4 separate regions of the Homo sapiens genome follow, and all the other regions are linked to region 1. Evidence: promoter capture Hi-C in 16 types of primary human blood cells and fetal thymus (Javierre and others, 2016). All regions are on one chromosome and are shown on one strand. The core of a region is centred on a gene start or on the middle of the fragment in contact, and the rest is flanking DNA. Distances in the headings are between cores, read along the strand shown. Region 1 holds the start of CASTOR1 (cytosolic arginine sensor for mTORC1 subunit 1). Region 2 holds the start of THOC5 (THO complex subunit 5). Region 3 overlaps NF2 (NF2, moesin-ezrin-radixin like (MERLIN) tumor suppressor). Region 4 holds the start of ZMAT5 (zinc finger matrin-type 5).

The links. The method cuts DNA at HindIII sites, captures the fragments that hold promoters and counts their contacts. A CHiCAGO score of 5 or more calls a contact.
Region 2: a fragment that was not itself captured here is called in contact with the fragment with the promoter of CASTOR1 in region 1 in 1 of 17 cell types (fetal thymus); the score reaches 6.8 in fetal thymus.
Region 3: a fragment that was not itself captured here is called in contact with the fragment with the promoter of CASTOR1 in region 1 in 2 of 17 cell types (fetal thymus and neutrophils); the score reaches 5.3 in fetal thymus.
Region 4: the fragment with the promoter of ZMAT5 here is called in contact with the fragment with the promoter of CASTOR1 in region 1 in 2 of 17 cell types (fetal thymus and neutrophils); the score reaches 9.4 in fetal thymus.

The regions. Positions count from the first base shown.
Region 1 is chr22:30,286,719-30,293,489 of GRCh38, forward strand. It overlaps CASTOR1 (cytosolic arginine sensor for mTORC1 subunit 1), which reads right to left and starts at 2,787. Exons shown (of 9, transcript NM_001037666.3): 1 at 2,667-2,787; 2 at 1,988-2,058; 3 at 655-842; 4 at 437-569; 5 at 107-230. The coding sequence starts at 2,779. It overlaps TBC1D10A (TBC1 domain family member 10A), which reads right to left. Exons shown (of 9, transcript NM_031937.3): 9 at 5,272-6,133. The coding sequence ends at 5,657. RefSeq lists silencers at 2,445-2,524, 2,725-3,164 and an enhancer at 4,045-4,104. The HindIII fragment of the contact is 5,917 bases long and covers 1,202-6,771 here.
Region 2 is chr22:29,550,164-29,556,934 of GRCh38, forward strand. It overlaps THOC5 (THO complex subunit 5), which reads right to left and starts at 3,594. Exons shown (of 20, transcript NM_003678.5): 1 at 3,508-3,594. It overlaps NIPSNAP1 (nipsnap homolog 1), which reads right to left. Exons shown (of 10, transcript NM_003634.4): 10 at 4,645-5,836. The coding sequence ends at 5,772. RefSeq lists enhancers at 1,717-2,416, 3,814-4,511, 3,895-3,964 and a silencer at 3,305-3,494. The HindIII fragment of the contact is 471 bases long and covers 3,563-4,033 here.
Region 3 is chr22:29,615,938-29,622,708 of GRCh38, forward strand. All of the region lies in intron 1 of NF2 (NF2, moesin-ezrin-radixin like (MERLIN) tumor suppressor), which reads left to right. Among named protein-coding and RNA genes, the nearest start is that of NF2, 16 kb to the left of the region's middle. The HindIII fragment of the contact is 3,522 bases long and covers 1,726-5,247 here.
Region 4 is chr22:29,763,890-29,770,660 of GRCh38, forward strand. It overlaps ZMAT5 (zinc finger matrin-type 5), which reads right to left and starts at 3,118. Exons shown (of 6, transcript NM_001003692.2): 1 at 2,983-3,118. UQCR10 (ubiquinol-cytochrome c reductase, complex III subunit X) reads left to right here and starts at 3,480. Exons shown (of 2, transcript NM_013387.4): 1 at 3,480-3,659; 2 at 5,789-6,524. The coding sequence starts at 3,510. The coding sequence ends at 5,830. RefSeq lists enhancers at 2,353-3,002, 2,972-3,201, 3,003-3,652, 3,562-3,611. The HindIII fragment of the contact is 8,045 bases long and covers 1-6,586 here.

The DNA.
Region 1 (6,771 bases), core at 1,537-4,036:
AAGAGAGGACAAGCAAGAGGTGCAAAACTGATAGATGGGCGGAAAGTGGTGGGACAGAGTGTAGGGAACAGTGCTGTGAGGACAAAGACGAAGTTCCAAGGTCCACCTGTGCGAGTAGAAGAGGACATCTATGAGGGTGGTGGCGATGGCTGGAAGCGTCTCAGGGTCCAGTGTGAGGACACAGAAGCGGTTCTGTGGGCTCTGGATGGGATGCACCGTGGGGCTGGGCCCTGCTGGAGGACAGCAGCAGGTGAAAAGGTGTCCGTGGGCTGGGGCGCCCCCTGGTGGCTAGTCAGGGAGAGGCGTGGGCCAGGGGCAGGTCTTGCTATCCAGGAACTGGCCGGGGTCCTCCTGCCCCACTGGGGCCCAAAAGGGAAGGGACCCAGTGGGAAGAGGAGGCCCTGCCCAAGTCCAAGTGTCAGGGGGCGGCCCTCACCATGCTGAGTGCGGGGAAAGCCATTGCTGGAATCATCCCTCGTCACAGGCACAGGCTCTCCGCCCACCTCGCGGTAAATGTCGAACTCCTGGGCCAGCGTGTGGATCACCACGGACAGGTCCTGCTCCCGCACCTGGGCCACAGCAGATGGCACATCACATGGGCTCCCAGGTACCTATATCCACCCTGCTCTGCATCAGCACCAGCAGGAAACTCACCAGGATGAAGTCCGTCTGGTAAGTGGACAGCATCAGCACAGACACGTGGTGCTCGGCCAGTGGCGCGATGACCGAACGGGCGATCTTGGTGACCCCAGCAGCCTGCACTGCCGCACCGCTGTGAGACGACACGTTCAGCACCAGCCATGTGGCCTCAGCTACTTGCAGGAACTCAGATGGGGGCAGCTCTGTGGGCAGGGGACATGTCAGGTCAGGGTCTACAAGGCTGGCCCCTGCCCCTCTCTGAGCCTCAGTTTCCCTTTCTGTGCCTTGGAGGGCTCCATCAAGGTAAGGGCAGGTCTGGAGGCTGGGGCTCCTGAAGTCCCTATGTGTGCAAAGACTGAGAAAGGCTTCAAGTGCTGGCCTGGTGGCATTGAAACTTCCCACTTAAGATCAGAGGTCCAGATTCAGACAGACCTGGGTTCAAATCCCAGCTTTGTTAATTTGTCTTATGACCTGGGGTGGGTGATTTGAGTCTCAGTTTCCTCATCTGTAAAATGGGACGACAATATCTACCTCACTACGGTGTCTTCTGTGGGTTAGCAGAAGCTTTGTACCACATGGCACCACCAGGGGGCATTCGCAGATCAGGTTGGCTGGGGGATTGCCTTCCCCTTTTGCAGACCCAGACTTCTGAAGTAAAAACAGGGAAACTAAGGCCTGCAGTGGAGCATGGGGACAGGCTAAGCTCCAGCTAGCTGGCCTGAGACTCCAAGCCTGTGAGGATGGGCAGGGCCAGCAGCAGGAGGAGGAGCTAGGCGTCAGCTCCAGGCCCCAGGGAGGGCCCAGGCTGGCGTCCAGTCCTGAGCTGGGGCCAGGGCCTGGGTGGCTGCTATTCACCCCAGCACAGCCAGGAGGCCTCCAGGACCCTCCCCTGAGATGGCTGCCTGCTCCTGCATTCCTTCCCTCAGACTCCTGGAGTTTCCAGACCAGCAGGGGAGGAGGTGACCCAAACCAGAGAGTAAGACCAGGAGGAAATAATACCCAGGGATTTCTAACAGCAGCACTTGACTGGAATCATAACAGAGGCCCTTCTGCAGGCCTAAGACTGCTGAGTGCCCCTCAGCGGTTTTAAGTTTATAAAGGCCTCATGGGACCCTATGTATCAGAACCATAACTATACCCATTTTACATAAGAGAAAACAGCTCAGAGAGGGAAAGTGATTTGCTCAAGGGCACACAGCCAGGGAGTGGTGGAGTAGGATTCGAACCCCGACCCATCTGCTTTTAAGGCTTAAGCTCTTGGGACGGATCCCAGCAACTGGTGAGAACCCTACAGAAGGGGAGCACGACAAGCCCCTCCCGTACTCCCGTTCCCCAGACCAACCCCCACCTTTAAAGCCCTCCTCGTCCACCATAAGCGTGTAATCCTCAGGGGTCTCCGTCAGGCTGAAGAACTTGCACCTGGTTGGGGGTGGGGAGCATCTTCAGCTTGGTGTGGAGAACTAGGGGTCGGGAGTGGATTTCTCTCCATCTGCCCCGAGACACCCCCGCGACCCTGGGCCGGGCGCCTTCTTGCCCTCTCGGCCTTTAATTTCCAGGCCAATGGGATGTTAGCCCCATCTCGGGGGTTGGGGGCTACTTTCCGGCCTCCCGACCTCTCCAGGAACCCTCCACCCCTCCACTCCTGGAGGGAGGAGAGGTTCACACCCGCGGCGACAGCCCCAGGGGCGTCGGACCTTGGACCCCCTAGTCCAGCCCCTCTGACATGAAGGGAGGCGTCCTGGAAGGAGCTCCCCGCAGTGACCAGGTAGGAATGCCCCCATTTGACACTACTGAGTTAAGCATTGCCCATCCCAGGCTGTTTGCGCTTTGCCCCTGGGAGGGGGCCTCACGGGGCCGGATAGGCGGCGGTCCCCCAGGCCGGATGGCGGCCGGACGGGGAGAGTCCTCCCCACCCGCTCCCGCCCGCCTGCCTGCCTGCCTTACGGCGATCCTAATCCTCCGACCCTGGCCCGGAGCGAGAGCAGAGCCCCCAGCCCCTATCTGCGCTCCCGAACCCGGGCGCGCACCGGCTGCGGCGGGGCAGGAAGAGCAGCTTGATGAGCGGGTGGGTGTAGAGCCAGAGACCGGGACGGGCGACGCTCAGCACCCGCACCCGGTGTTCTAGGATGTGCAGCTCCATCGCGGCTCGCGCGGACCCGACCCCGCCGCCAACTAGACCCAGGCCGCACGGGAGGCGGGGCGGCGGGGGTGGTGCCCGAGCCTTAAAGGAGCCGCTGCGCTGCCGCGTCCACGCCGCCCGCTGCGAGGCTGACCCGCCCAGCCAGGCGCGGCGTCCGGCTCCTTGACGGCCACGCCCCGCGGGAAGAGAAGCCTATTGGGTGGTCACGCCTCCTCCTAACGCCAGAACCTCATCCCGCTTTCCAGCCAGCCCACCGAGACCGCCCCGAACGGCTCCGCCTTTTTTAGTACTGGCTCGGGGATAGACCCCACCCCGTCTGACTCCTCCAGGCCCCGCCCCTGACGCGCCCCCTCCCTGGGCTCCGCCCTTTCCGCGGAAAGCCAGCTGCGCAGCCGGTGGGAGCATCCCGGAGGGGACGTTTCTGTCCTTCTGGCACACACGTGGGTTTCATGATTGAAGTCCTTGAGACAGAAGGGACACGAAACAAACTGGAGCTCGGCTAGGACCAGAACGCTGCCCCCAAATCCCCGGAGCAATGAGAGGCACAGGTCTGCTGTGCAGCGCTGTCCCCCGGGCGCCTTTCGCTCTCCTGCCTCTCATGGCTGCAGGGGGCAGGGCCGCCAACACAGGATTGCGATTGATACCTACCCTTCCCCGCTTGCGAGGGGGCTGACAAATTGAAACCTGGCCTGGTAGCCCCACTTGTTCCTTTCATCCAACTTTCAAAATAGAAGGCTCCTCACCAGGGGCACACAGAGGTAGAATCCTAGCCACCTCTGCCTGAGCGACATACTTTGGGTTAGGGGGCTGCAGGTGGCCAAGGCCTAAGGCTTGAGGTCCCTCGATACCAACAAAACCCGGAAGTGCTTGAGCCAGTAATGCCCAGTGCTCAGACTTTGGTGGGGGAGGCCCTTGCAGCTGAGGTTCAGTGAGTACTCAGACCTCAAGCCTGAAACTTGAGCCCCAAAGCCTGCAGCCCTTAGCTAGCCTGTGCACATCTAAACTTGCTTCAGGTTCAAGGAGGCCCCCGGCACTGGCAGACACCCCAGATCTTATCAGGCCTTCACAGGTCTAAGACCCCCCCAAGGCTAAGCAGGCATCAGCATGTCCATGTTGGCTCCATGCAGGGCTGAGAATGCTCCAGGGGACCCTTGCCTGGCCTGAGCACCCTGAGGCCTCAGATGTGAGGCTTTGAACCAAGTAGACTAAAGCAGGCCTCAGGCCTGATTGGGACCCAGCAGGCCTAAGCAGGCCCTCTGCCTGCTCTGGAGCCCCCACCATAGGCAGATGGAAGCCAAGCTAAGCCTCCTCCCTGGACTCTCGGGCTTGACACATTCCTGTGAAACACTATGTAGCCACCACATCCTGGCCTATCCCCTGGAGGACTAGGGGAAGGAGGAGCTTCTCAAAGGCTGAGCCCATCTCATCAATGGCAGGTGCAGACAGAGTGGGAAACCATGGGGCTGAGGGGAAGGAGGCAGGAAGTGGAGTGGCCTACCCTGATAGTCTCTTGAAACCCTTCACCTCCCTAGGCCTCAGTATCCCCAGCTGTACCAGGACAGGATGTTCCAGGCCCAGGCGAAGGCTGAAAGCTCCCAGGGAGGCTCTGCTCCTCCCTCTCCTGCCCCCTCCCGCTATGGCCTGGCCTGGCCCAGCTTGGTCATCTGCCAGGAATAGCGCTATTGTTTGACTGGAAAAGCTGCTTCCTCAGCAGAAGGGGGGCCTCTCCCAGGGACACCCTGTCCTTGCCCTCACCAGTCATCAGGTTGTGACCGCAGTGCCTGCCTGGGCCCTCAAGGGCAGAGTCAGGTCTCCTGGAGCCCTGGTCAGGAGAGGAAGCTGAGTGAGGGGCTCTTGGTGCAAATCCGGCTGAGGCTTTCCCATTCAGCTCCTGTTTCCTCGTCTGTTAAATGGGGCTAATGGAGCCTACTTGACCAGTCCAGCCTGGCACTTGGCAGTAAATCGAAGGCGGCATTTTATCAAAGAACCACAATTCGCCCCCCTCCCTGAGGGCCTGGGCTGAGCCTGTGAGGACATTCGTGGTGCTCCACTCCGGGCCCCGTCCCTGACCCCAACCCAGAATCAGCTCTCAGAAACTTACTGGAGCCTGAGGTAGCATCCAGGCCAGGACTTGAAGGAGGAAGACCCTGAAACCTCCTCCTTAGGAGTCCCTGCCCCCTTGGTGGGTGGGTGAGGACCAAGGCCTAGGGAGCACGCCCTGCTCTGCCCAGCACTGAGCTCCAGCCCTGGTGTCCCTCATCTGTGGCAGAAGGTAGACATAAGGCAGTGGGGATGGGGTGAGTGAAAATGGGGGTTAAGAATGGGGGCTGACCAGGGACTTGGCATGTCCTCTGGCAAAGGTACCTCTCAGAGAGGCTCTGGTGCTGGGCTGGGGCCCAGGAGAAGGGGCTCTGTAGGGCAAAGAGAAGAGATGCTGAGCACCAAGGTGACCAAGGTGGTACCCCCTTCCCAGCCCCTAGCTGTACACGAGCTCTCTATACAAGGCTGTTTATTTCTGTACAAAACCATGTTTCTATTTTACACAAAGAACACCCCACCCTTTCCCCTCACACCAGCACCCTAACCCTGGGGAGCATCCCCCAGGAGGAGGGGGCTGAAGGAGGCCCCACCCCCCAGGCCCTAGCTTCTGCCTGCCCTGGCTGGGCCAGCCTGAGTGCCACTGTAAAGAAAATAAATAAGGAGGCTCAGGCAGAATCTGTGTTGGACCAGGCAGAATCTGTGTTGGACCAGCCAGACTCCAGCCCAGCCCAGTGGCCAGGCAGCTTGGCCCTCAGAGGGTGGGCAGGATGTGGAATGTCAGTTCATGAACCGTGTAGTTATATGGAGACCCCGCCCTGGAGGCCTTAGCTGCCAGGGTTACAAGTAGGTGTCCTCACTCTCTTGGGACGTCAAGCTCTCCTGGGAGCGGTGGTGGGCTGAGACCTGGGGAGCCAAATCCTGAGGGGCTGAGTCCTTGGGGGCTGAGTCCTTCGGGGGCACATGCTGTGGGGGACATGCATCTCCTGCAGCGGCCACCACCATGGCTTGATTTGGGGCTGGGGGCTTCTCCAGCTGCCCTCTCCCCTTCATCTGTTTCCGCTGCTCCTTCTGGGCCTGCTTGGGTGGCTTGGGCTTGGCTTTGGAGCCAGGGAGGGGGGCATCTAGGGGCAGGCGGATGGATGGTGAAGGTTGTAGGGCAGGCCGGGGACCAGGTTCTGCATCCAAGATAGCCTTGGCACCATGCAGCCTGGGCGGGGAGCGGCACTGCAGCTCACCCCGGGTCTCCTGCCAGCGCCGCAGCTGAATGAGGTGTTCGCGCTCAATCTGGCGCTCTGTCACGGGCAACTCCACCACCTGCAGGGGCAGTGACACAGGCAAGTGGACACCAAGAAGAAGGACCTTCCCCTTCTGCCTCCCAGCCTGGGCCCCCAGTCTTCCTCAGCATCCCCCAGCCTTGGCCACTAAACACTGACCCCAGGAAGGATGAGGGTCTAGTCCCAAGCTGCAGTCACGAGCCCCACAGCTGAGTGCCAGGTGAGCTGGACACTTGAGACCCACCGCCTCAGAGGATAAAGCTGCCCACAGCTTCACGAGTCCACCTGCCTGACTATGGGGCTAAAGGGGTAAGACCCAGACAGACAAAAACCTGCTCTCTGCCAACCTGTCACCCACCGCTGCCCAGGGCAGCCTGGCTGCTTAGGCTCAAATTCCAGCTCCACCTGGGTGGGTGACTTTAAGGGGAGTTGCTTAGTGATTCTGCCTCTGTGAGCCTCCATTTCCTCATGTGTAAAAGCTGGTCACGCATGTTCCACCTAATTGCCCCTGAGAGACAAGTATCCATAAAGAAAGAACAAAGAGAAATAAGAGCCAAGGCTGCGAATGGGGTACCAGGGAGGAAGACGGGGCCGTGGGTCAACATTCTTCTTCATTCCCAAGCGGCTCGGATCCAGAAGGCCCTGCAGAGCCAAGCCTCTCTGTGCCCCATGCTCTTC
Region 2 (6,771 bases), core at 2,548-5,047, 740 kb before region 1:
CTTATAACAAACTTTTCAGCTAAGAACTACCACCATTTCACAGATGACAAAACTGAGGCTCGCAAGGGGAATTACTTGCAAGTAATTGCGAGTCACATGACTAGTAGGCCAAAATCCGGATCTATCCAATCAATGCCATACTGGTGCTCTTAACTACACTTTTATGCCTCCTAGTCCTGCCAGCCTCTCATCTAGTGATGCCATTGACTCCCAGGTTGATCCTAGAATTTAAAGTATAGAACCTACATTTCATGGGGCTCTACAGTCACAAAGCATCCTCCCTTGTTGCCTCACCACAGCCTCCTGAGGTGGGCAGCACTGTCCCCTTTACCCTAATCCCTCTTGCTCTGTCACCCAAGCTGGAGTGCAGTGGCACAATCATCACTCACTGAAGCTTCCACATCCCCGACTTGAGGGAGCCAATAGTTTGTCACGGTAAAAGTCAGAGAGCCCTGAACTGGAATCTCCATTCTACTCTTTCATGGCTATGAGTCCCCGGACGAGTCACTTCACTTTTCTCTGGGTCTGATTCCTCACAAATCAAATGAGAATAACAGTCCCTACCACAGGGGTTGTTGTGGGCTTTAACACAGGAGGCATTCCACTGGGGAAGGTGATGAAGATGACCTGGGACTGTGGCTTCAGATGATGCATAGGTGATCTTAAATAATGCTGAACACCTAAGGAGAAAGTTAATCCCTTTTCAATTCTTATTTTGAAACTTCTGATTGCTTCAAGGAGAACATCTCAGTTCCCTAGTTTGTCTTTAACATCTATGAATGCCAATGTTCCTTTGTAACAAAAGAACTCTATCCCACAGCCTTAAACAACAAAATCTAGCCAGAGTTTGTTAACAATGATCTAGTTGCATTATATTAACTATATTAATTTTTACCTTCTACATAAAACAAGTGAAAGCAGCTTTCCATTTCTGGTGGAGAGATTTCAAGTTTTCTCTCAAAGTAAATTTGAGTTTAAAAAGTGACTTGGCTGGGCGCAGTGGCTCAGGCCTGTAATCCCAGCACTTTGGGAGGCTGAGGCGGGTGGATCACCTGAGGTCAGGAGTTTGAGACCAGCCTGGCCAACATGGTGAAACCCCGTCAGTACCACAAATACAAAAATTAGCCGGGAGTGGAGGCGGGCGCCTGTAATCTCAGCTACTCAGGAGGCTGAGGTAGGAGAATCACTTGAACCCAGGGAGCAGAGGTTGCAATGAGCCGAGATCGCAGCCACTTCACTCCAGCCTGGGCAACAGAGCGAGATTCAGTCTCAACAACAACAAAAAAAGTGACTGGGCCCAACACCATGGCTCACACCTGTAATCCCAACACTTTGGGAAACCAAGGCAAGCAGAGGTGAGAGAATCGCTTGAGCCCAGGCGTTCAAGACCAGAGTGGGCAACAGAGCGAGACCCCATCTTTAGAAAACATTTTAAAATTAGCCTAGTATGGCGGTGCACACCTGTGGTCCCAAGCTACTCTGGAGGCTAGGGTGGGAGGATGGCTTGAGCCCAGAAGTTCCAGGCTGCAGTGAGCTATGATCGCGCCACTGCACTCAGTCTTGACAACAGAGATCCCGTTGCAAAAAAAAAATTTGGACTGGATTAAAAATTTTTAGTAAACCCCTCCCCCTCCCCCCTCCCCCTCTCTCCACGGTCTCCCTCTGATGCCGAGCCGAAGCTGGACTGTACTGCGGCCATCTCGGCTCACTGGAACCTCTCTGCCTGATTCTCCTGCCTCAGCCTGCCGAGTGCCTGCAATTGCAGGCGCGCGCCGCCACGCCTGACTGGTTTTCGTATTTTTTGGTGGAGACGGGGTTTCGCTGTGTTGGCCAGGCTGGTCTCCAGCTCCTGACCGCGAGTGATCGGCCAGCCTCGGCCTCCCGAGGTGCCAGGATTGCAGACGGAGTCTCGTTCACTCAGTGCTCAATGGTGCCCAGGCTGGAGTGCAGTGGCGTGATCTCGGCTCGCTACAACCTCCACCTCCCAGCCGCCTGCCTTGGCCTCCCAAAGTGCCAAGATTGCAGCCTCTGCCCGGCCGCCACCCCGTCTGGGAAGTGAGGAGCGTCTCTGCCCGGCTGCCCATCATCTGGGATGTGAGGAGCCCCTCTGCCCGGCTGCCCAGTCTGGGAAGTGAGGAGCACCTCTTCCCGGACCCCATCCCGTCTAGGAAGTGAGGAGTGTCTCTGCCCGGCCGCCCATCATCTCAGATGTGGGGAGCACCTCTGCCCCGCCGCCCCGTCTGGGATGTGAGGAGCACCTCTGCCCGGCTGCGACCCCGTCTGGGAGGTGAGGAGCGTCTCTGCCCGGCTGCCCCGTCTGAGAGGTGAGGAGCCCCTCCACCCAGCAGCCGCCCCGTCCGGGAGGTGGGGGGCAGCCCCCGCCCGGCCAGCCGCCCCGTCCGGGGGGGAGGTGGGGGCCAGCCCCAGCCCGGCCAGCCGCCCCGTCGGGTCGGGGGTAGGGGGGCGCCTCCGCCTGGCCGCCACCCCGTCCGGGAGGTGGGGGGCGCCTCTGCCCGGCCGCCCCTTCTGGGAGGTGAGGAGCCCCTCTGCCTGGCCGCCACCCCGTCTGGGAGGTGTACCCAACAGCTCATTGAGAACGGGCCATGATGACGATGGCGGTTTTGTCTAGTAGAGAGGGGGGAAATGTGGGGAAAAGATAGAGAAATCGGATTGTTGCTGTGTCTGTGTGGAGAGAGGTGGACAAGGGAGACTCCATTTTGTTCTGTACTGAGAGAAATTCTTCTGCCTTGGGATGCTGTTGGTCTATAGCCTTACCCCCAACCCCGTGCTCTCTGAAACATGTGCTGTGTCCACTCAGGGTTAAATGGATTAAGGGCGGGGCAAGATGTGCTTTGTTAAACAGAAGCTTGAAGGCAGCATGCTCCTTAAGAGTCATCACCACTCCCTAATCTCAAGTACCCAGGGACACAAACACTGCGGAAGGCTGCAGGGTCCTCTGCCTAGGAAAACCAGAGACCTTTGTTCACTTGTTTATCTGCTGACCTTCCCTCCACTATTGTCCTATGACCCTGCCAAATCCCCTCTGCGAGAAACACCCAAGAATTATCAATAAATACTAAAACAAACAAACAAACAAATTTTTAATAAACGGTAGTAGAGGTGGTAAGTTGATCTGGCAAAGCCTACAAAGACCGGACCTGAAAGGCTTAAGTGTGGGAAATCCTGACTTTGGCAACACAGTAGAGTGCCTGGCACACCGAAGAGCACGATATATGTGAGCTGTTACCATCACCACCACCCCCACCCCCATCAGGCTACATTACCACAATCAAGAGGCTCCAACGTGAAGCCTGAGGATGCTGCAGCGAACACTTTTCGGATGAGGTAACAGCGCAGCGCCGAGAGGCCGGGGACCGCGGGTAGTGAGGGAGGAGAAGCCGGGTCAGACCCCAGCCCAGGGGCGCCCTTTGGGCGATCAGCACCTCAGTCCCGGAGCGCCCAGCCCCGCCCCATCTCCCAGCCCCACTGCCCTTGTCCCCTCCTCACCTCACAGCTCCAAGAACCTGGCACCGGGAGTAAGCCACTGCCGGAGGCGGAGCAAAGCTTGCCCGCGCACCATAGAGAACCGGAAGTAAGGAAGGGGCGGCCGACCGGAAGCGAGGCGTAGAGGCCGGAAGCTCAGCGCGGAGGCCCCCGAGGGAGGTGGTGGCGTGGTGAGACTGTAAAAACAAAGACACATGCTTCTCGTTCACTGTGCCCAGGGCCTAAGAGAGTGTCCAGCAGCTAGTGGGCGCTCCACCGAGTAGTTGAATTAATGTTGTGTTATGTCCAAGATAACACGAAAGAACCTGGTAGCGCGGCGGGGAAGATTTCGGCGCTAGAGGATTTGCCTGCATAACCTTACTTCTTAATTATTATTTTTACCATAATATGCCACGCCAGTGAAGGCAACAAGTCAGGGAGGGCATTAACCTCATTTTACACTTGGCTTTTTGAGGAGTGCATCACCAGTTTCTCCATTTTAGGCCTGACTTGCCCAGGACAGAGTCACAACTCTAACGCAGTATTTGAAAGCTTCAGGTATTTCCTACCCCTGGCATGAACTGTACAAACAAGGCCCAGGATTTTTTCGTGTAAATCCTCATCTGGAGCTAGTAACACGTGTCCTGAATCCCTGGTTGTACGGGGCCAGTTCCTTCTCCTTCCCAGGAGCAAGGAGGAAAATACTGGCTCTTTTTTATTTTTATTTTTATTTGAGACAGAGTTTTGCTCTCTCACCCAGGCTGAAGTGCAGTGGCGCAATCCCCGCTCACTGCAAACTCCGACTCCAGGGTTTAAAGGATTCTCCTGCCTCAGCCTCCTAAGTAGCTGGGATTACAGGCATGCACCACCATGCCCAGCTAATTTTTGTATTTTTAGTAGAGACAGGGTTTCACCATGTTGCCCAGGCTGGTCTTGAACTCCTGACCTCACTCAAGTGATCTGCCCACCTCGGACTTCCAAAATGCTGGGATTACAGGCGTGAGCCACTGCACCCAACCAGTACTGACTGTTGAGAATAGCTCAAGAACACAGTACCCTCCAGGAGGGTAGATCTGCCATGTGGGACTAAGCCCACCAGCTCTACTGTGCCCTGCCTCAGGCACCTGCTAAAGTTCCTTGCAGATGAAGAAAAGACACTGATTTATAGTAAATATTTAATTGTTTCCATCAGCAATTCCAGCACAAGTTTTCCTGGATGGTAGGCAGAATCAAGCTACCCAAGGGTTCATGATGAGGTATGGGGGTCACTGAGGAGACCCCCAGAGTCACTGACCCCTCCCGCCACCTCCACACACCAGGTGGCCCTGCAGAATGAGGGTTGGGCTGATAGAATGTCAATTAGGGGAGACAGGATACAGGGTGAGGGAACAGGGTCTAGCTTGTATATTTGCCTGCAGGAAGGAGGGAGGGCAGGAGAGACTCTGCATAGAAGGACTGGAACTACACATTTAAGTTTTCAACCCCAATATGCAGGGGGAAACAGCCAAGCCACTCTCCATCTGTCTAGTATTAGGAACCTCTCTTCAAGTGGTCTTTTGTCATCTCTGTTCTTCTTCCCAATTCTGTATTCCAGATTCCAAATTCTACAATTGAAACCCAAGTTCTGAATTCTAAGTTCTACCTTCCGAGTTCCTGTTACGTGTCTGTCTCCTGCCCCTAAATCTTTCCTGGCTCCCATCCCTTTCCCCAGCCCCTCTGGGCAGAATGTCTGAACCTCCTCCTGACCGTGGTGACGAGGTTTGTTTGTATTTGTTTTTTTGTTTTGGCAGTTCCAGGCTTTTCTCCAGCAGGAGGGACTTGGCTCAGACTGTCCAGCAAGTGGGTGGCCCAGTGGAAACCAGGGAATTCCTGAGGGCCTGGCCTGGCCTCCTCTCTTCCCACCCCACCTCTAGCCACTGGACATACTACCTTTTGTGCAACTAAGCTAAACAGAGGATTTCCAAGGGTGATAACTGGGGACTGGTGGCCTTGAGATGAGGAATTTTAGAAGATAAATGAAGGCCTAAAAGATCACTATCTTTCATTCAGGGAAATCAGAAACTACTTCTAGCAGGGGGAGGGAGGCAGGCAGGGAAAGTAGAAAGGGCCTGGGCAGAGCTGTAATCCTCAGAACTTGTCAGCCTTCAGTTCCCCCTTGTCTGAACTGAGCACTGCCCCTCAGAGTCCTCCCAGAGCCAAGACAAAACCAAGACAGCAGGACCAGGAGTGCCACTGTCTGTCGGGGTTGCCTGAGGGAGAAGGGGAAGGAGGTGGAGGTGTAGGCAGCATCACTGCAGAGGCGAGATCTTCAAGGGGATCATGATCCTAGACTCCATGTGTCGCACCAGGGGGACTGCGGAGAGAGAAGGCAGAGGTCACACAGGGGGCTCAAGCAAGCCAACAACCTCCCCTGGCCCCACCCACACATGCTGGCCTTTGAGTGGGCAGGAGGAGGCCCCAGATGCTGCGACAGGAATGTCCCATTGCCCTCGTGGAAGGGCCCATGAAGAGCACCAGATCCCTCAAATTATGGGATAAGACAGGACTTTGGTGGTGATGAGAATAACATTTTCTTAAATTTTAATAGTTATCTGTTGGCCAGGCATGGTGGCTTGTGCCTATAATCCCAGCACTTAGAGAGGCCAAGACAGGCGGATCACCTGAGGTCAGGAGTTCGAGACTAGCCTGACCAACATGGAGAAACCCTCTCTCTACTAAAAATACAAAATTAGCCGGGCGTAGTGGCACATGCTTGTAATCCTAGCTACTCGGGAGGCTGAGGCAGGAGAATCGCTTGAACCCGGGAGTCAGAGGTTGCTGTGAGCCGAGATCAGGCCATTGCACTCCAGCCTGGGCAACAAGAGCAAAACTCCGTCTCAAAAAAAAAGAAAAGAAAAACACTGATTTAGACCAACTGCCTCGTTTTACAGATAGAGAGGGTGCAGCCTAGAGAAGGTCAGCTCCAGGTCATCCAGGAGGTTAGACTCTTTCCTCCAGCTCAGAGCTTTTCAAACTTTAATGTGCATACAAATCACTTGGCAGTTCTTGTTAATGTGCAGATTCTGATTTGGTAGGTTGCAGGAAGCCTGCGATTTGTTATTCTTGTTTGTTTCTTTGTTTGAGATGGAATTTCACTCTTGTTGCCCAGGCTGGAGTGCAATGGCACTATCTCGGCTCACTGCAACCTCTGCCTTCCGGTTTCAAGCGATTCTCCTGCCTCAGCCTCCCGAGTAGCTGGGATTACAGGCATGTGCCACTATGCCTGGCTAATTTTGTATTTTTAGTAGA
Region 3 (6,771 bases), core at 2,237-4,736, 670 kb before region 1:
GATGAATGGATAAACAAAATGTGGTCTATCCTTACTATGGAATTACTTGGCAATAAAATAGAATGAAGTACCAGCACGTGCTTCAACATGGATGGACCTTGAAAACACTATGCTATGTGAAAGAAACCAGCCGCAAAAGAACACATATGATTCCATTCATATGCAAATCTAGGATAGGCATATCTACAGAGACAAAGTAGATCAGTGGTTGTTCAGGGCTGGGAAAAATGGGTGGGGTAGAGGGTGTGATAGCTGAAATATACAAGGTTTTATTTATGAAGTGATGAAAATACTCTAAAACTGACTGGTGATGGTTGTACACACTGAATGTACTAAAAACTACTGAATTATACACTTTAAATGGGTGAATTTTAGGGTATATGAATTATATATCAAGATGTTTAAAAAAAACCTTAGGCAAAATGTAAACAATGGGCATGACTGTGTTCCAAGAAAACTTTATGGACACAGAAATTTGAATTTCACATAATTTTCACAAGAAAATAAACATTAAAAAATGTAACATGCTGGGCACTGTGGCTCACGCATGTAATCCCAGCACTTCGGGAGGCCGAGGTGGACGGATGACGAGGTCAGGAGTTTCATACCAGCCTGGCCAATATGTAAAACCCTGCCTCTACTGAAAATAGAAAAATTAGCTGGGCGTGATGGCACACGCCTGTAATCCCAGCTACTCGGGAGGCTGAGGCAGGAGAATCACTTGAACCTGGAAGGCGGAGGTTGTGGTGAGCTGAGATCACGCCGTTGCACTCCAGCCTGGGCAACAAGAGTGAAACTCCGTCTCAAGAAAAAAAAAAAAAAAAAGTAAAAATCATTCTTAGTTCTCAGGCCACACAAAAATAGGTGGTGGGTTGGATTTGTCCTGTGGGCCATAGTTTGCTGATCTCTGATCTAAGTTACTATTTGATAGATGTTAGATGTTGTGAGAGGGTAAGAGAGACTAGCCTATAAGGAAAGGGATTTTAGTTTTTTGGGGGTTTTTTTTTTTGAGACGGAGTCTCGCTCTGTCGCCCAGGTTGGAAAGCAATGGTGTGATCTCAGCTCACTGCAACCTCTGTCACCCAGGCTCAAGCGATTCTTCTGCCTCAGCCTCCCAAGTAGCTGGGATTACAGGCATGTGCCACCATGCCCGGCTAATTTTTGTATTTTTAGTAGAGATGGGCTTTCACCATGTTGGCCAGGCTGATCTTGAACTCCTGACTTCAGGTGATCCGCCCTCCTTGGTCTCCCAAAGTGCTGGGATTACAGGTGTGAACCACTGTGTCCATCCAGGAAAGGGATTTTGTATGACATTTTTCAGCCGCAATTTTGCCAGGAAAAGCTCTTTTTTCTTCATTAAGTAGATTCCAGACCCAAAGATGTTGGACAGTATTATCAGCTAGAGCAAGGTTTTTCAACCCTGGCACTATTGACATTTTGGCTGGATGATTCTTTGTTGTGGGGAGCTGTCTTGTATGTTCTAGGATGTTTAGCAGGATCTCTGGCCTCTACCTACTAGATGCCAGTAGCATTCCCCCACCCCATCCCAGTTGTTGTGACAACCAAAAATGTCTTCAGACATTGTCAAGTGTCCCTGGGGTAGGGAGGACACCCTCCAATCTCCTCTTTCTCCCTACCCAACCTCCATGACCACATTGAGAACCACTGATCTATAGAAAAGGATAATAGTAGTGACATTCAGAGAGGCAGGATGGTATAGTGCAAAGCTTGCCAAACTTTAATTTTACATAAATGACCTGGGGAATCTTGGAAAAATGTAGGTTCTGATTCAGTAGTTCTGGGATGGAAGTGAGAATTTTGTATTAATAACAAACTCTCAGGTGATGATACCTGTGCCACCGGCCCAAGGACCACACTTTGAATAGCAGAGCAGTAGTAGAAAGTGCATCGGCTTTGAAAGAAGACAGACCTGGGCTTGAATTCTAGCTAAAATACTTCTACTTTGGACAAGTTACATAGCTCTCTGGACCTTATTTTCTCATTGGTAAAATGAGACTAATAATGCTGACCCTGCAGAGTTCTTATAAGGATTCATGGAATGCATAGTCCCTGGCAGAAAGGAAGATATAGGAGGGACTATAATTGGCCTAAAGTAGGAGGCTCTGGTTACCATGGGCACTGCCCTGTTGTGATTTATCAAGCCATTACACCTCACTGAACCTCAGATTTCCAGTGGAAAAACCTGTTTGTAAACCATGTTCACATATTCTGTTGAAAGTAATCATAGTTTGATTTATGATGATAGGGCTCAGGTAAGTGATTAGTTTTATTCTCCTGCCTGCTTTTTATGTTGTCCATTAATGAGCAAGGTGCTGATGCAAGGAGATGGCAGATGCATTTTGAAAAAAAAGGAGAGAGAGAGTACTTGTAGAATTCTTGACTTTATTGAGGTCAAATGTAGGTGGCTTTTCAAGAAGGACTCAATTTCAGAACCGGTGGCATTTAACATATGAGTCATGTTACCTTATGCTAATAAGTTCAGACTTTTTTTCTTTTTACTGCAGAGATAGGGGGAAAAATCTCCTGCACTACTTGCTGCATTGCTCAATTGGCTGGATGCTTTGGAAGATTTTTCCACTTGAAAGATTTGTTGTTTGTCATTTTGAGAAAGTGGGTGCTGAGTGTAATTTGCCAGGAGGCTAAACGGCTATGTTATTTCTTATCTAGGCTGGAATTTTACTCTAATAATTCAATCTATCAGTAAGAAAAGCCAAATAGGAAGTTGTAAGAGATCCTAATACTATCTTATATTGAAAACAAAGCCTCCTTCTCCTGTTGTTTGGCATTCTAAATGTTTTCACATACCTAAGTGAGATTATGATTGTATTAAATACCAACATTGCAGATCATTCCAGCATACAAGTGGACGTAAGTTGTCCATAACAGAAGGAACTTTCTAAAGGGGAAGACAGATAGAACAATTCTGGCATTTTCAGTAAAATCTTAAATCCTAGGCTCCCTAGGACCAGGCAAACCATCCCCTTCAAGGATGTAAACTCTGGAGGGCAGTGTAGTTGTACAGGGTAATAGTTCTATACTCTATATTAGTGCAACAAGAAACTTCTATTCCTGTTTCAGAAGTAAGACTGTTATCTACCTTTTTTTTTTTGAGATGGAGTTTCACTCTTGTTGCCCAGACTGGAGTGCATGATCTCAGCTCACCAAAACCTCTGCCTCCTGGGTTCAAGTGATTCTCCAGCCTCAGCCTCCCGAATAGCTGGGAATACAGGCATGTGCCAACACGCCCTGCTAATTTTTAGATTTTTAGTAAAGACAGGGTTTCTCCATGTTGGTCATGCTGGTCTCGAACTCCTGACCTCAGGTGATCCACCTGCCTTGGCCTCCCAAAGTGCTGGGATTACAGGCACGAGCCACTACGCCTGGCCTGTTATCTACCTTTTTACCGCTGTGCTCTCCCATGGGTTTTTTTTGTTTGTTTGTTTGTTTGTTTGTTTTGAGATGGAGTCTCGCTCTGTTGCCCAGGCTGGAGTGCAGTGGCGTGATCTCAGCTCACTTCAACCTCTGTCTCCTGGGTTCAAGCAATTCTCCTGCCTCAACCTCCTGAGTAGCTGGAATTACAGGTGCCTGCCATCATGCCAGGCTAATTTTTGTATTTTTAGTAGAGATGGGGTCTTACCATGTTGGTCAGGCTGGTCTTGAACTCCTGACCTCATGATCTGCCTGGCTCGGCCTCCCAAAGTGCTGGGATTACAGGCATGAGCCACCGTGCCCGACCTCTCCCATGGGTTTTAAGTAGTGCCTATGGATGGCATGGGTGCCACTACTCAGGTCTAGGACAGGCAGGGGTGAGTGATGAGTGCGTGCGTGCTGATGAAGGGGTGCGAAGAAACAGATGCTGGCTAGTGCTGCCCTCCACTGGACCCCATTCTGCCTTTGTGTGGGACAAAGGGCTAGGGACTAGCAGTTACTTTGTGCTAGGTACCATGCTAAATGCTTTAAATGCACACTACCTCATTTGATATAACAGGGACTCATTTATTCATTCAAGAGATATTATAAAATAGGCTAGGCACAGTGGCTGACACCTGTAATCCCAGTGGGAGGCCGGGGTGGCCAGATCACTTGAGGCCAGGAGTTCGAGACCAGTTTGGGCACATGGTGAAATCCTGTCTCTACTGAAAACACAAAAATTAGCCAGGCGTGGTAGTGGGCGCCTGTAGTCCCAGCTACTCCGGAGGTTGAGGCAGGAGAATTGCTTGAACCTGGGAGGTGAGGGTTGCAGTGAGCTGAGATCGCGTCACTGCACTCCAGCCTGGGCGACAAGAGCGAGACTCTGTCTCAAAAAAAAGACAATAATTAGGCGTGGTTGTGCGCACCTGTAGTCCTAACTACTTGGTAGGCTGAGACAAGAGGATCACTTGAGCCCAGGAGTTCGAGGCTGCAGTGAGCTATGTTCGTACCACTGCATGAAGCCTGGGTGACAGAGTGAGACTCTGTCTCTTTTATTTATTTGTTTTTTAAATAATAGAGACAGGGTTGGCCGGGCATGGTGGCTCATTCCTGTAATCCCAGCACTTTGGGAGGCTGAGGCAGGTGGATCCCTGAGGTCAGGAGTTCAAGACCAGCCTGGCCAACATGGGAAAAACTCGTCTCTACTAAAAATAGAAAAATTAGCCGGGGGCAATGGCATGTGCCTGTAATTCCAGCTACTTGGGAGGCTGAGGCAGGATAATTGCCTGAGGTGGAGGTTGCCTGAGATTGAGCCACTGCACTCCAGCCTGGATGACAGGGAGAGACTCCGACTCCAAAAAAAAAAATAGAGATGGGGGTCTCCCTACGTTGGTTGCTCAGGCTGGTCTCAAACTCCTGTGCTCAAGGGATCCTCCTGCCTCAGCCTCCCAAAGTGCTAGGATTATAGGTGTGAACCACCACACGCAGCTCTGATTTACTGGGTGCCCACGTTGACCAGGCAGGGAACACCTCCTAGCAGTGATCAAGGACTACTTTGGACCTAGGTTCTGTAACTGACTTCATCTTTAAGTGGGGAAACAGAGGCTCAGACAGGATACATAGCATGCTTAAAGGCTTAGTGCAGCCACTATCTATTCTGAAAGAGGCAGAATAGGACAGGGACAGGTAGGTAGTGAGAGAATAGGGAGAATAGATGGGCACACCCTTTAACTTAATATCGACCAGTAAAGCCTGCAGTTGCTTATTTGAACCTCACATTGAGGCTGACATGTAAGTTGAGCAAATCTTAACTCAAGCTTCAGTTTCCTTGTTGGGGCCGCTGAGGCAGCATAGCCTAGAGATTACAAGCATAGACTTCAGAGTTTGATTCCTGGCTCTGCCTCTAACCAGCTTTGCAACCTTAAAGCTCCTTAACCCCCTCACATGCCTCTGTTCCCTAACTGTAAAATGGTGAATGTAATTAATTCTTCCTGCATAGTGTTACAAGAATTAAATTTGAGTAATTACTGGTAAAGTACGTAGAATAGTACCTAACACAAGATAAGTGCTATATATAATGGTTGTTACCTAAAGAAATAACAGCCTGGGCAACATGGCGAAACCCTATCTCTACAAAAAATACAAAAATTAGCCGGTTGTGGTGGTGTGCACCTGTGGTCCTAGCATCTCGGGAGGCTGAGGTGGGAGGATCACATGAGCCTGGGAGGTCGAGGTTGCCATAAGCTTCCTGATTGCACCACTGCACTCCAGCCTGGGTGACAGAGTGAGACCTTGTCTCAAAAAATAAATAAATAAAATAAATTAAAAAAATAAAAAGGAAATAAGTTCAGTGCCTGTCGTTAGCTTGCTCCCTTTCTCAGCCTCTCCTCCACTTCCTCACGCACCCTCTTGCTCTGAGCCTATTATCCTGGTCCCTCCTTCACACTGCCACATCTTTGCATAGGCTGTTCTCTTTGCCTGGAATGCCATTCTCATTTGTTGCTTGGCAGAACTGAACTCATTCTCCTTCTAGGCTCTGCTCAAGGGTTTCCTCTTCTTTGTGTCCAAAGTCACCACATAGCTTCTAAGTGATGGGACTGAGATTTGAAGCCAGGTCATCTGTCTTTCAGGCCAGCCCTCTTTCCACTACCCTATGCTACCCAAATAGGAAGCGTAAAAGAGAAGTAGGAGAGAAAAAGTTAGAAACCTGGAGAGAACTTAGGTATTTGGTAAACAGGAAAAAGAAAGTGGAAAGAAGAGATCATTTGAAGGACTTCCTCAACTTAACAACTATTTGCCTATGGCATTATTTTATTGCATTTGGTGTATGATACTATCTCAAAAGCATTTTGTAAACTTGCCAGTGGCTTACATTTTTGCCGGATGAATGACATGACTAACGATCCGTGCTACATTACCTCAGTGTCTAGTTTGTCATTTTGAATCAAGTGGACATTTTCTGTAAGTGAATCATTTTCACTTGCTCATGATATAATGAGAATTCCTTACCTTTGGCTTAAAATGAGGCTTATGTTATAACAGTTAAGCATTGTCTAGTTGCATATTTAACATAGTCAGAATGCTCCTGCCTGTATTCAGCCTGGTGTCTTATAATATTTGGTATGCCCACCTAGATAGCAATTGGTAACATCTTTATTCTGAGACTCTTTCATGTATGGATTTTGAAAAGTTAGTTAACTGTTCAGACGACATTGTTTCTTTGACTTTTACAATCCGCTTCCCTCTCACTGACAGTTCAGTTTTGGAAGACCCTGTATTTTTTTTTTTTTTTTTTTTTTTTTTTGAGACAGAGACTCGCTCTGTCGCCCAGGCTGGAGT
Region 4 (6,771 bases), core at 1,868-4,367, 520 kb before region 1:
TGCAGTGAACTATGATCGTGCCACTACACTCCAGCCTGGGCAACAGAGTAAGACCCTTTCTCAAAATAATAATAGTAATAATAATAACCCAGCATGGTGGTGCACACCTGTAATCCCAGCTATTTGGGAGGTTGAAGCAGGTGAATTGCTTGAGCCCAGGAGTTCCAGGCTGCAAGGAACTATGATTATTACAACCAGGAATTATGTGCCACTGTACTCCAGCCTGGGCAATGGAGGGAGACCCTGTCTCTACAAAAATAAAACATAATAAAACCAAATGAAACAAGCCACACCTTTAACTCCCTGTGGTCTTCCCTACTCATTTCTCCCTCCTCTGAACTTCCCATCAGCCAGATTGGTTGGAAATGATTAGCAAGACCTAAGTAGTCTTCCCCTGGAGCCTCACAACTTCCTGCTCTGAGGGGCTCCCAGGATGCTTTGCAAATAGTATAAAACCACAGTAAGGATAACTCATGGATGTAAAGCATTTCACATTTTACCTTCTGATCCCCTAACCTGGTATTACTGTTGCTCTTTACAGATGAATTAAAAGAGAGTTAAAGCCTGATCAATGTCAGAGTCAGAGGCAGAGCCAGGCCTGCAATCCAATCCCTAGTTTTTGTTTGTTTTGTTTTCATTTGAGCTCCATCACCCAGGCTGGAGTGCAGTGACGCGATCTCAGTTAGTGGCAGCCTCCGCCTCCCAGGTTCAAGCGATTCTCCTGCCTCAGCCTCCCGAGTTGCTGGGATTACAAGCGGGTACCACCACACCTGGCTAATTTTTTTGTATTTTTAGTAGAGACAGGGTTTCACCATGTTGGCCAGGCTAGTCTTGAACTCCTGACCTCAAGTGATCCACCCACCTTAGCCTCCCAAAGTGTGGGGATTACAGGTGTGAGCCACCGCGCCTGGCCCCTAGTTTGTTTTTCATGGAGACGGTCTCACTATACGGCCCAGGCTGGTCTTCAACTCTTGGCCTCAAGTGTTCCTCCTGCCTTGGATTCCCAAAACACTGGGATTATAGGTGTGAGGCACCATCCCCAGCCCAGTCCCTGGTTTTGAATGCCACCCCTATCCGGATGACTCTTCTCAGGCTCATACCTCTCCTCTAAACTACAGATCCATGTCCTCATTTGCCTCTAGACACCTCCACTTGATGTCTGTTGGCTAGCTCAAACTGATGTGGCCAAAACAGAACTTAAGATCATTCTGTTGATTTTAAATTGTTGAGGTCAAAACTTAGATGTCAGCTGGACGCGGTGGCTCACACCTGTAATCCCGGCACTTTGGGAGACCGTGGCAGGCGGATCACTTGAGGCCAGGAGTTCAAGACCAGCCTGGCCAACATGGTGAAACCTTGTCTCTACTAAAAATACAAAAATGAGCTGGGCGTGTTGGCATCCGCTTGTAATCCCAGCTATTCAGTAGGCTGAGGCATGAGAATTGCTTGAACATGGGTGGCAGAGGTTGCAGTGAGCCAAGATTGTGCCACTGCACTCCAGCCGCACAGAGTGAGACTCTGTCTCAAAAAAAAACAAAAAACAAAAAACAAAAAAAACTTAGATATCCTCCTCAATTCCTCTTTCCTGTGCACCCTACACACATCTGCTAGCTTGCTCTGTCTGCCCTCCCTCCCAAATTACATCCCAAATCTGATCACTGCCCTGCTCCACACCCTAACCTAAATTACCACCCATCAGGCCGGGCATGGTGGCTCACGCCTGTAATCCCAGCACTTTGGGAGGCCAAGATGGGAGGATCACCTGAAGTCAGGAGTTTGAGACTAGCCTGGCCAACATGGTGAAACCCTGTCTCTACTAAAAAAAAAAATTAGCCAGGCATGGTGGCAGGCGCCTGTAATCCCAGCCACTCGGGAGGCTGAAGCAGGAGAATCACTTGAACCCGGGAGGCGGAGGTTGCAGTAAGCCGAGATAGCACCACTACACTCCAGTCTGGACGACAGACCGAGACTCCATCTCAAATAAATAACCACCCATCTTCCCTCAAATGATCTACTACAATAACTTCCCCCTTGCGGTCCACTCTCCATAGACCAGCCAGGATGATGACATTAAAGTGCACATTAAATCTTGTCGCATTTCTCCTGAAAACCCTTCAATGGCCTCCTAGTGCAACTAGAAAAAGACAAGACTCCTTGGCCAGACGCGGTGGCTCACGCACCTTGGGGGGCGAGGCAGGAAGATTGCTTGAGCCCAGGAGTTGGAGACCAGCCTGGGCAACACAGTGAGACCCTGTCTCTAAAAACAAAAACCAAAGAAAACAAGACTCCGTAAGGTGGGTTCCAAGGCCAGACATGAGCTGACCGGAGTCAACCTCTTCACAGTCCACTCTACTTCTTTCCCTCAAACATCCCAGGACTGTAGCTGCCTCAAGGCCTTTGCACCAACGTTTTCCTGTTCAACTCTACTATTCATTCAGGTCTCTAGTCAAGTGTCACCCCCCAGAGCAGCTACCCAGGGTGCAATGTCACCACCACTGCCTCTCCAGTCAACCAAAGCACTATCTGTTTGCTGTACTGCATCTCCCCACCCGCCCACTCCGTAGATTGAGCGCTCTGTGAGAGCAAGGACTTTGTTCACTGCTGGGTCCCCAGAGCAGGGACCAGAACAGGCGCTGGGAAAACATCTGTTGAATGCCCCAGGTACTCCAAAGCCCTTGCTCTTTTCAATCCCAAGCAGGTTCCAAGTCTCCAGCCTTCCAAACCAGGGTTGCCCGGTGCGAAGCCCAGGGGTGAGAGGAACAGGAAGCAGGGCAGATCCGTCCCTGCCCTTAATCCAGGGTGAAGGGTTTAACCTCCAGGACAAGACTTTTGCCGCAGGCTCCAGCTCCTGGCCTAGACTTGGGGCTGGTGCAGGGGACAAGGCGAAGAGTTGAGCCAGGGTCTCGGGAACCCAGCTGCCCTCGCCCCTCTATCCACACCCTATCCCAAGAAATGGTGCGTCCCGCCGCAGGGCGTACGCACAGAGAAGGAAGTGTTCAAGTCTTCCAGTGCGGAGAAAAGAGACTAGGACTCGCCCCTCGACGTCTCGCGGAAGGTACCTGGCTCCCCGGTGGCTGCAGCTCCGGGCTCCTCCTCCTGCGTCCTCGCGTCGCGTACTGCTTGCTGGGATTCGTAGTCTCGCCTTGGCCATCAGTTCGCCCTTCCCAGAGAGCTTTGGGAATCTAAGCCGGGACTGGGCGGAGGGCGGGGAGAAGGTGATGGCGCGCGAGGGCTTCTGGGAGTTGTAGTTTGACATATTCTAACAGCCAGGAATTCTGGAGAAGAAAAATTGGGTAATAAATCTTATCAGATTATCTGGGCTGTCCTGATATGAACCTTTTGAGTTTTTTTCCTCATTCCCAGGATAGGAATACCTCTGTGGTTCAAAACACGAAGGCTGAGATTCAGAGGAACTACAAATCCCATAAAGTGTTGCACGTCTAGGGCCTTTGGGGAACGAGGTCGGCCCCAGCGCAGGCGCGGTGGCGCGAGTTGGACTGTGAAGAAACATGGCGGCCGCGACGTTGACTTCGAAATTGTACTCCCTGCTGTTCCGCAGGACCTCCACCTTCGCCCTCACCATCATCGTGGGCGTCATGTTCTTCGAGCGCGCCTTCGATCAAGGCGCGGACGCTATCTACGACCACATCAACGAGGGGGTGAGGGCCTGTGCCATCCCTGACCTTGGACCCGCCTGAGGGGTGACAGTGGAGTAGAGGTGGGATGGGACTCAGTATACTTTTACCAGGAAGGGGGTAAGGGGTAAACCGTCGGCGTCTTCTGTCTCGAGTCCGCCGTCTGTCCCCTTGGCTTGATGTGAATTCTAAAACGTTAAGCGAGGTTAATATATTTCATTTTGCAGGGGTTGTAAGTATTGCTGTGTGCCACCCTACATACCCACTTGCCCATTATCAGAAGCAAAAACTAAAGGCTAGTGAGAGCAAAGGACTTACTAGCTGCACAGGAAGCCAGGGGCAAGTCAGGGCCAGAAACGGGACCCCTGTCTCTCAGAGTTTCAAGGGCAGATTTGAGCAGGCGACGGTCGTGAAAAGGACGTTAGACACCTTAGACGCCGTGGCTGAAGTTTCAGACGGCGCTTCTGGTCCCCAAGGCTTCCCACGTAGACAGTTGGTATTAATGGTTGAGAGTGGGGGCTATGAAATCAGAAAGCCTTGGATAGGAACACTGGTCCTTGTCACTTAACTGTGGCATTAAGTTGAGCAAGTTTCTTCTCTGAACTCCGTTTTAACTGTGAGATGGAGATATTAATAGTAACCTGAGCACGATTGTGAGGATTACATGAGATGCAGGCAGGGTGCCACATGCCTGGTAGGTGGTACCACTGAAAAATAATCATTGCTTACATTCCTCAGGAGAAAGTGGAAGCATGAGGTAGGAATCGCAACACATTTTTGACTTTTATGTATCATGCACTGTGCTAGGTGCAGTGCATGCTTTATATCGCTAAATTATGACTGTGCTGGAGTAGGCCTTATACATATAGCCCTGTTCCACCACTCACTTGTGTTTTTAATTTGAGACTGTCTGACTCTGCAGCCCGGGAAGGCACTGTCCACTAGTGCTATGCTGCCTGTGACCAGTGCAACTTCCTGCCCCATATGAAAGCATTGCTACTGTCCCATCTCTTGCAAGTGGTTCTGTTAACCACTCCCATTGATCTGGAGAGACATCCAAGTATGTTGTTATAACTCACCCATTTTCCTTGTGCTTTTTTTTGTTTTGTTTTGTTTTTTTGAGACAGGATCTCACTCTGTCGCCCAGGTTGGAGTGCAGTGGCATGATCACAGCTCACTGCAGCCTTGACCTCCTGGGTTCAAGTGATCTTCCCACCTCAGCCTCCTGAGTAGCTGGGACCACAGGCATGCGCCACCACGCCCAGCTAATTTTTGTATTTTTTGTAGAGATGGGGTTTCACCATGTTGCCCAGGCTGGTCTTGAATTCCTGAGCTCAGGCAGTCCTCCTGCCTTAGCCTTCTAAAGTACTGGGATTACAGGCGTGAGCCACTGTGCTCAACCTCTTGTGCTTCTGGGAATGAGAATTTCAGCCAATTTAGGTCCCAGGAAATGTCTTAAATGGCTCATGGTGAAATATTTTGGGACTACGCACTTATAATCTCTTCAGTAATACCTGGGAGTTGAAGAACTGAGACATCTTCCAGGCTGTTTTCCTTAATAATTGTGTGTTTTGGGGCACTTCCCTCAATCTCAAACTGAATTTCCTGTGAAATTAAGATCACCCCTTTCCACTTACTTCACCTGGTGATTGAAAGCATCATAGTATTTTATAAATGCCAAGAATTATGCATGAAGGCTCGGCGCGGTGGCTCACACCTGTCATCCCAGCGCTTTGGGAGGCCAAGGCAGGCAGATCACTTGAGGTCAGGAGTTTGAGACCAGCTTGGCCAACATGGCGAAACCCCATCTCTACTAAAAATACAAAAATTAGCCGGGTAGCGCATACCTGTATTCCCAGCTGCTCTTGAAGCTGAGGCAGGAGAATCGCTCGAACCCAAGAGGCTGAGGTTGCAGTGAGCCGAGATTGCGCCACTACACTCCAGCCTGGGCGATAGAGCGAGTCTCCGTCTCAAAAAAAAAATGTGCATCAAGCATAGGATTGCTTCGAGTTTGCCCACCACAAGTGTATCTTTTTAATCAGGACATGGCATGTGTTTCCCCCAAGCTCATTTTAGAGACCAGGGCAGTGGGAGTAGTTGTAAAATGTGAGAGGCAAAGGTCAAAGTTTGTGGCTCTTGTCTTTAAAATGCAGAAGCTGTGGAAACACATCAAGCACAAGTATGAGAACAAGTAGTTCCTTGGAGGCCCCCATCCAGGCCAGAAGGACCAGGTCCACCCAGCAGCTGTTTGCCCAGAGCTGGAGCCTCAGCTTGAAGATGATGCTCAAGGTACTCTTCATGGACCACCATTCGCTGTTGGCAAGAAACGGCTTTACTTACAAAACAGACTCTTTACCTTCTGCTGTGTTTGAAGTATGTTTAGTCAGCATGCTCAGGAAATAAATGTGAATTGCCCTTGAGACCTGCTTCTACATTGGTTGCTTTGTTAACTCTACCTGATCTTCACTTGTCAGTAATTTGAGACCACTTCAAAGCCCTCTGCAAACACCCCAAAGGCAGAATCTGCTATTTTGAGTTTTCCATTAACTTCCAAAGAATTCTGGTTTTCAAAACAGGAGCCAGAGTTGGAGATATTACAGTCAACTTTGGCTTCTAAGCCAGTAATTCCATTCTTAAATACCTCACTGTCTTGGCCATGGGGAAGCACTATGGCCTCAGCTGGGGGAAAGACCCTGGCCTAGGGGTCTTAGCCACTCCCCACCCTAGGGTATAGTTCAGGGGTATCCAATCCTTTGGCTTCCCTGGGCCATGTTGGAAGAATTGTCTTGGGCCACACATAAAATACAGTAACCATAGCTGATGAGCTAAAACAAAAAACAATGGTTTGTGCAAAAATCTCATAATGTTTTAATAAAGTTGAAGAATTTGTGTTTGGGCCTCATTCAAAGCCATCCTGGGCTGCGTGCAGCCTGCAGGCCACGGGTTGGACAAGCTTGGTGTATTCTGCCTATTACTGAGTATCTTTTGGTAAGCAGTCATACCTCTCTGGGTCACAGCCTCCTGCCACAGTTCCACTCTGATGAGTTCAGTTCATAAAAGTGCTTAGTTGGTGGGTTTGAATCCTTACTCCACTGATTCTAGCTATGGGAACCAAGGTGATATGGTTTGGCTGTGT